Regions from separate parts of the Homo sapiens genome. Here region 2 is linked to region 1. The links are contacts of gene promoters, found by promoter capture Hi-C in human tissues and cell types (Jung and others, 2019). All regions are on one chromosome and are shown on one strand. Each heading gives the region's core, a stretch centred on a gene start or on the middle of the fragment in contact. The rest is flanking DNA. Distances are from core to core; before and after follow the strand shown. Region 1 holds the start of RAB17 (RAB17, member RAS oncogene family). Region 2 overlaps COL6A3 (collagen type VI alpha 3 chain).

Evidence for each region. Contacts are between HindIII fragments. The study calls those that stand out against the background at their distance.
Region 2: a contact is called between a fragment that was not itself captured here and the fragment with the promoter of RAB17 in region 1, in 2 of the 25 tissues and cell types used here (IMR-90 fibroblasts and aorta).

What each region holds. Positions count from the first base shown.
Region 1 is chr2:237,589,284-237,591,983 of GRCh38, reverse strand. It overlaps RAB17 (RAB17, member RAS oncogene family), which reads left to right and starts at 1,250. Exons shown (of 6, transcript NM_022449.4): 1 at 1,250-1,517. It overlaps RAB17-DT (RAB17 divergent transcript), which reads right to left and starts at 824. Exons shown (of 3, transcript NR_187201.1): 1 at 717-824; 2 at 1-112. The HindIII fragment of the contact is 5,809 bases long and covers 1-2,147 here.
Region 2 is chr2:237,401,854-237,406,304 of GRCh38, reverse strand. The region is part of intron 1 of COL6A3 (collagen type VI alpha 3 chain); the gene reads left to right. Among named protein-coding and RNA genes, the nearest start is that of COL6A3, 10 kb to the left of the region's middle. The HindIII fragment of the contact is 6,379 bases long and covers 1-4,451 here.

The DNA of each region.
Region 1 (2,700 bases), core at 1-2,500:
TCGAGCCACCGCGCTGGCCTCTTTTTGCATTCTTGCTATAAAATTGGTATTTGTATCTTCCTCCCATTCTGCGCTCCCCCAACCCTGCAGGAAGGTGGATTCTTCAAGGGAACTGGAGAGAAGAGAAGCACATTCATGTATTTCCACATTCAGCCTCCATCTCACGAGTTACACCATTCCCAGCACGTCACCACCCCCAGACCTTTGGTTACCAGCCTGGGGGCAGAGGATAAGGACGTCATTCAAAAATAGAGAGATTCTCAAGCCTCCAGAGTGCGGGGGCCCAGCCGAGCATGCTGGCGGCTTCCAGGGAGGTGGCCACGCCCCAGGGGAAGTGGTTGCATGGAGGAAGAATCTCAGAGGAGGCTTGGACGTGGTAGAGCAACGCTAGTCCTGTGTTAGGACTGGCTAGTCCGTCCTGCAGGGATGAGGGGCAGAGCCTCAGCAGAAGTCCAGGCCAGTGTCCCCCCTCCAGCATAAGAGCCCCCCACTCCCACAGGGCGGAGGAACCACTGTGGTGGCGGAGCTTATTTCCCAGCAGCCCCGCGGGATGAGACCCAAACGAGAAGTTAGGGTGAGTTTGGAGGACATAAAGTGAGCTGGCTTCCCGTATACTGGCTGTGTGGAGTAATGTTCACGGCAACAGATTTCCATCTCCTCAGCCTCAGGCCCAACCCTGCTACCCCAGCCATACTCAGAGGCTCTGGAAATCTTACCTGGAGGAGACTCTTCTGTTACCACCAAGCCAGGAAGTTTCATGGCTTGGGAAGACCAAGAGGAAGTCCACCTCCCCCTCTCCTGCACCTGGAGTCTCCCATGTGCACGGAGGCCACGCCCCCACCCCGCCCTCAGGTGGCATCAGCCCAGGATCTGACCCTGGACTGGCTCACACTCAGTTGCCTCTGGCCAGTGCAGGGCTCAGCCAGGGATGGCTTCTAGCTGACAGTGGGAGGAATTAATTCATCTGACCGGAATATTCTTTTCTCTTCTGGGCTGTTGGTTTTTCAAGTGCAACAAAGATTCCATACAGCTCCAAGGAAGGAGCCAAGAAAAACATTCTGTGCCAAAGTGAGATCCTGGAAGTGAAACCCCGGAATAAAGCTGAAAAACGGGCTCCAGTTGGGTGCCAGGAAATGCAGGACTGGAATGTGACTTGACTTCCGGCAGCGCGCAGGTGCTCCCGGGTCACCTGCTTTGAGGTCCAGCCTCCTGCCCTGCCTCAGGTGACCACATGACCACTGTGGACTTTGCCCTGAAACCTTCTGGGAGGAGAAGAGGCCTGACCTTGGCGCTGGGGTCCAGTGGGCATTGCTCTGGTCCGAGGCTGCTGCTCTTGACCTCTGCTCTGCGGCTGTTTTCCATTGGAGTAGAGGCTCCTCCTGTCCTGTCCTGCCTGTGGAGGGAAGCAAACCTTCCCCTGGACCAGAGAGAGGAGAAAGCGGAGACAGGTAGCAACGCTGTGGACTGGTGATGACAGGCTCTTCAGCTCCCTGCAAGTGACCGGGCCTGGGGAACAGGTGAGTCATTGTTTAAACCTCTGTGCCCTTTGTGGAGTGTCTGCCTGTGTGTGTGTGTGTCTCTGCTTCTCTGTGTGTGAGTCTCTGTGTGTCTGTGTGTGTGCTCACGTGTTTGTACCCATGTCTGTATTTGTTTGTGTCTGTGCATGTGCCCATGTGTGTATAATCAAAGGACAAAGCTGGGGCGGAGACTTCCTAGTTCAGATTTCTGATGGCTCACTAAGTCGGATTCCCAGAAGGAGATTCTTATTTGCATTTTTCTTCGGGAAAGTTCCGGTTTTAAGGTCTTGAAAAAAAAAAACACAAAAAACTTCTGGTAATGAGAAGAACTCTTAAAGAAATCCATTTCAAATGACATCAACATTCCCAATTTAATACCCAGTGATATCTAGGAAGCTTGTCAGGTTTTCTTGTAAACTCCTTTTTACAATCTACATTGTGTTTTCTGTATCAGATGGCTGTATTCTGAATGCAATGTACAGGTGTACCTCTCGTAATCTCAATATTCTTCACAGGCCCCAGGCAAGGGTGACACAGGATCACAGTTGCCGATAGACTCATCAATCAGACCCTTCCCTGGAATGGCCCCTTCCCCGCAAAAAAGACTAATGTGGGATTTGCTCTCCGTTTTTTTTCCCTTTAGTGGAAGGGAGGTGCAAGAGATTAAAAAGCCCCAAGTTAAGATTACTAGAGAAGCGCCAGTCTTGAATATGGTGTTCCTGAAAACATCTTTGTCTTCAACAACCTAATAACATCTTTCACTACTAATAACCCCATCTTGATTAAATTCTGGAGGTGGGGGTCAGGTGCCACACTTTTAATTTTCTCTTTGGACAGAAGGCTCCAACCTCTCATTATTGAAAGCTTACAACACTCAATCACACAAAAAGTTATATAAGAAAATGTTTACTGCAGTCTTATTACAGAGAAAAAATTAAAACTAAGTAAAAATCCAGTATTAGGAAAATGGTTCAGCAAGTTGAGATAGTTGTAGAAATGTTATATGTCCATTAAACATGATTTTGAAGCAATGTGTGAGACTGCCTTTGGTATTAAGTATTTCTTACCCATCGGATAATAATTTTATGTTAAAACTATGGGTTTTGGTTTGTTTTTAGGAGTCATAGAAAAAAACTAGAAGTAGGCAAAAATACCATTTGTGGTTGTATTACGGGGGTGGAGT
Region 2 (4,451 bases), core at 446-2,945, 190 kb after region 1:
GTGTGTGTCTCTTTCTTAAAAAAGATTTCCAGACATGGAAAATGAAAAAGGTTTTGAGTAGGCTAAATGAAAACTAATTTACAGAATTGCAAAATAGCTTGGGAAATCATATTCATTGGAATATGATTGAATATGATTTCAGGTTGAAGGGCCATGTAGGGCAATCTTTCTGATGAAAGGTATCCTTTTAAATTTCAAAGGGATAGAAACTAAACGGAAAAAGGCACCTCAAATCCTTTTTAGAATGAGGCAGAGTAAACAAAAAGATGAATAATCCTAAACAGAAAGATGAGAATGAAAATGTGATGAATGTCTCTTATTGAATCTGTTTCCTTTAGGACACAGAATCTAGGATGAAGGAACAGACCCCTTCCAGCCCAAGGATCTCAAGCAGCCAATTCTGAGTCTTTTTTTCATATTTGAAAGAATGATAGTAGACAGCCGACTTCCATTGACATAGAATCTGTGGTGTGTCACCACCAAGGAAGTCTATTTTTTCCCCAAAAGGCATGGGGAGTTTCCTTGAGATCTGGGCCAAATCTGGCACAGCCTCTAGGGTTTCCCGGGGTTCTTCCCATGAGCTTTGGAAATGCTAACTTGGGTTAGGGTTCTGGTTCTATGTTGTTTTTATCTATGTAGCTTTGAACAATCACTTTGCCTTGCTGGGGTTTCAATTTCTCAGCTATAAAATGGAGGGAAATCAGCCATCGGATGGTTGGGAGGAGGGCGTGAAATCCCACCCACAAGACAGAAGCCCAGGAAACGTTACCAGCACTCTCCTCTCTCCTTCCTCCGGGAGGGTGGTGTCGGGGAATGAGCGCGGATGGCTGCCTCATTCCCTCTTGTTGAAGAGGGCGGGTGGTCATCTGGTGAGATGGTGTTTGACATCTTTTAATAATCTAAATGAAAAAGTTCTCCAAAATTTGCTGCCAGGGAATTTCGTTTTTTTATAAATGGAGACTCCAGGACATGACAAACAATAGAAGAGAGTTAATTGCAAACGAAAATATCAGCAAATATTCAACAGCTGGGCTAGGAGCCCACGAGCCACAAGACCTGCTTCCCGCATGATGGCAGGAAAGTGTGTGGGGCCAAAGGCGTTTTTCCCACCTGGGAATTCAGCTCAGTCAAACCATATGGGTTCTGAATCATCAGTGGAGCCTGGATAACGCATTGTCCTACAGGCATTATCTCCCGTCCTTTTCAGAGCTGGAAGGGCTCCTTTCCTTCTCTTCCCTCCCCTCCTCTTCCCTCAATATCTGGATATATTCTGGATAAAATAATTCCTGTGCACAGTGTATTTATCCCATTACTTTGTGTTCCAATGGGAAGTATCTCCACTGAGGGGGCTACTCCTCCAAAGATTCACATCTTGAAAATAAAAATCTTTACATATGATTTTCAATGAACTAAAAGTTCATTTTACTCAGAATGGTTGAAGTAAGTGAGTGATGTCTTAGACTTCCCGGATTTTATTTTGTAACTATTTAGATTGTATTGAGCACTCTGGAAGATGAGAAATGTAATTTTGGAATTGCTCCAGAGTGAGCCCACTCAATGCTTTATATGTGACAGAATCAGTGGATTCAAAGGCTTTCACTGTGTGAGGTATGGGAATGATTAAGAAAACCATTAGCAAAACCTGCTCAAGGCATAATTCACTTGTGCTCTTTGTCAATGCTCCCTGCACAGGTGTCTGCAGCTCTTCCCATCCCAGACTCAACAGTGAGGAGACAGCTCTCATCTTATCATGTCCTATTTTTTCCACCTGGATTACAAAGCCGAATGCTTTACAAAGAGCCTCTATAATACTCTTGTGTTCTCATTCACAAACAAAAATACCACTTAAAATCATGCCTCTTGAACATGGATTAAACATTTAAAGTAATCGAACTGGATCTTCCAGAAGATTTGCATTAAAATTTTTAATTGAAGCAGTGATGCTTAAACTTTTGGGGGGTGAGGAGTGGCACAACTGCCTTTTAGAATCACATACAAACATGGACCCTTATCTCCAGAAAAACCCTCATCCATAGATGCAATTTTGCACTCAACTGTGGGAGGATCATAGACTCTTTGAATCTGTTGATCCCGTATTAAAACATTGATCTGGACCAGTTACAATAATACAGGTTGTTTTGGAAAGAACAGGCCATTTTCTTAGAAAGAATCTAGCAGGAAGCTTACCTTTGCTAAAAAAAAATTGACGCTCAAGCTTGATAGAACGAATCAAGAATAGCACATATAAAATGTACTTTTATATTATTCTGAAGTGTATATCATTATTTAATTGAGGTCATACAAAAAATTAGATATTGCAATTGCTTTTTTTTTTTATTTGAAGAAACACTCAGGAATGGGTCTAACAGACTGTAGGGAAGAAAGGTAGAGCTTGGTGGAAAAGTCTGGAAGGTTCCCAGGGTTGCATGGGCTTGAGGGATTCCTAGAGAGTGAAGGGGCAAAGTTGGGGCTGTGGCACGGTGGGGGTAGGGTCAACCTAAGTGGAGGGAGGAGAACAGGCAGTCCAGCCTGTCGGGGGTCCCTGAGCCCTGCTGTGCTGCGACCGGGCTAAAGCTTGGGAGCATTATCAAACCACAGCACAAGCACTGGAGACTGCTCTTCTACATTGTGTTAACATATATCCATGTCCAAAAGGCAGTGACCATTGCAAGGGAAAAAAAATCGGGCTGAGCTTTTGCAATACTGCCGCTATCACCACTCATTGCTGTCACTTTGTTGCAGAAAAATATCTGTTCTGTTGATAACTGGCCTCCTGAGCATCATTAGAACAGCATTCCTTTCTCACTGTTGATGCATTTCCAAGAGACTGCTGTATTGACAGGTGGTTCTATTTTAGCTGCTGAGATCATGGCTTCAAGTTCTCAGAATCTGAATCACAGGGTACATTTGTTTCATCACAGGTGGTACTTTTTGTTGACTTTCTTTGGAAATCCAAAGCCACATGGGTCCTGGTGTTCATTCCCTTGTTTGTGGCTTCATCTGTCTCCATCTCACCAATTTTTGGCGGGTCAGGCCTAGGGCCCACACTGTGTTCCGTCTTCCTCATAGCTGGGCCGCAAGATTTGGACTCCAGCTTCTCCCTCTGGGCCTGACCTCAGGCAGGAGGAATTTCACGGCAAATCCACGGGACTGAGCTTCAGGTTTCCTTTGCACCCACTTAGCTCCTGTCCTTGACTGGCAGCCTCAATCACTCTCTGTGGCTCTCCCTGTACCTTTGCTAAGTGGTCCATCTGGACACTAGTCTGCTGCTCCATTCATGGCAAAGTTACATCACTCATCAGCCGGACAGACTCTCCTCTGCTATCAATCTTCAGGTGGCAAGGCTGAGAACATTAGATCATCCTCATCCCTGATTTCATTAGCTGTATGGGGAAAATGGAATTCCTGTGCTACACAACAGACAACCATGAAGACTTGCAGAGCCCATGGGGGCACCTGTGGAGAGAGGAAGATTAAGATAGAGATACAAAAGCTCAGGCCTTGGGTGGAGCCGATTCCAAAGCTCAGAGGATACTAGTCAAGGCAGAAGCCATGTTTGCACCAGGTCTGAATGTTCATATTAGATTCTTTCCCACTTTCATGAGACTCTGATCTTCTTTGCCAAACCCTAACATTTTGCATGACATATACTCTTTTCTTATTTCTTTCCAAATCTTATTTAGAAGTAAGGGCAAACATTGTGTTATTTGAATACAGCGGCATGTAGACACACTTTAGGATGTTTAGTTGTACTGTTTTTTCCTAGTAGCTCTTAAACTCTATCACACCTCAAAAAAGAGATGCTGCACTTACATCATTCCTGTTAAATTGATGGCTACATTTTAGGGGTAGTTACCCATGCTTTTAAAACCTGGCAAATGATATTTCCTGTCCTCATTTCTATTTTAATTGTGGTAAAAACCATATAACATAAAACATACTATCTTGACTATATTTAAGTGTACAGTACAGCAGTGTTAACTATACGCACCTTGTGCTACAACAAATATCTATAACTTTTTGATCTTGCAAAACAGAAGCTCTATACCTATGGGACAGTAACTACAACTGCCTCCCTCCTGACAGCCCATGGCCAACACCATTCTAGGTTCTTTTTCTAAGACTTTGACTACTTTAAATACCTTCACATAAATGGAATTATAAAGTAATGCATTTGTCTTTTAGTGACTGGCTTATTTCACTTAGCATAATATCCTCAAGATTCATCCATGTTGTAGTAGATAAAAGGATTTCATTCTTTTATAAAGCTGAATAATATTCCTTGTATGTGGCATGTATAAGACTTAGTATAATACAGTAGGCCGTGCACAGTGGCTCACGCCTGTAATCCCAGCACTTAGGAAGGCTAAGGTGGAAGGATCTCTTGAGCCCAGGAGTTCAAGACCAGCCTGGGCAACATGGCAAAACCCTGTCTCTACTAAAAATACAAA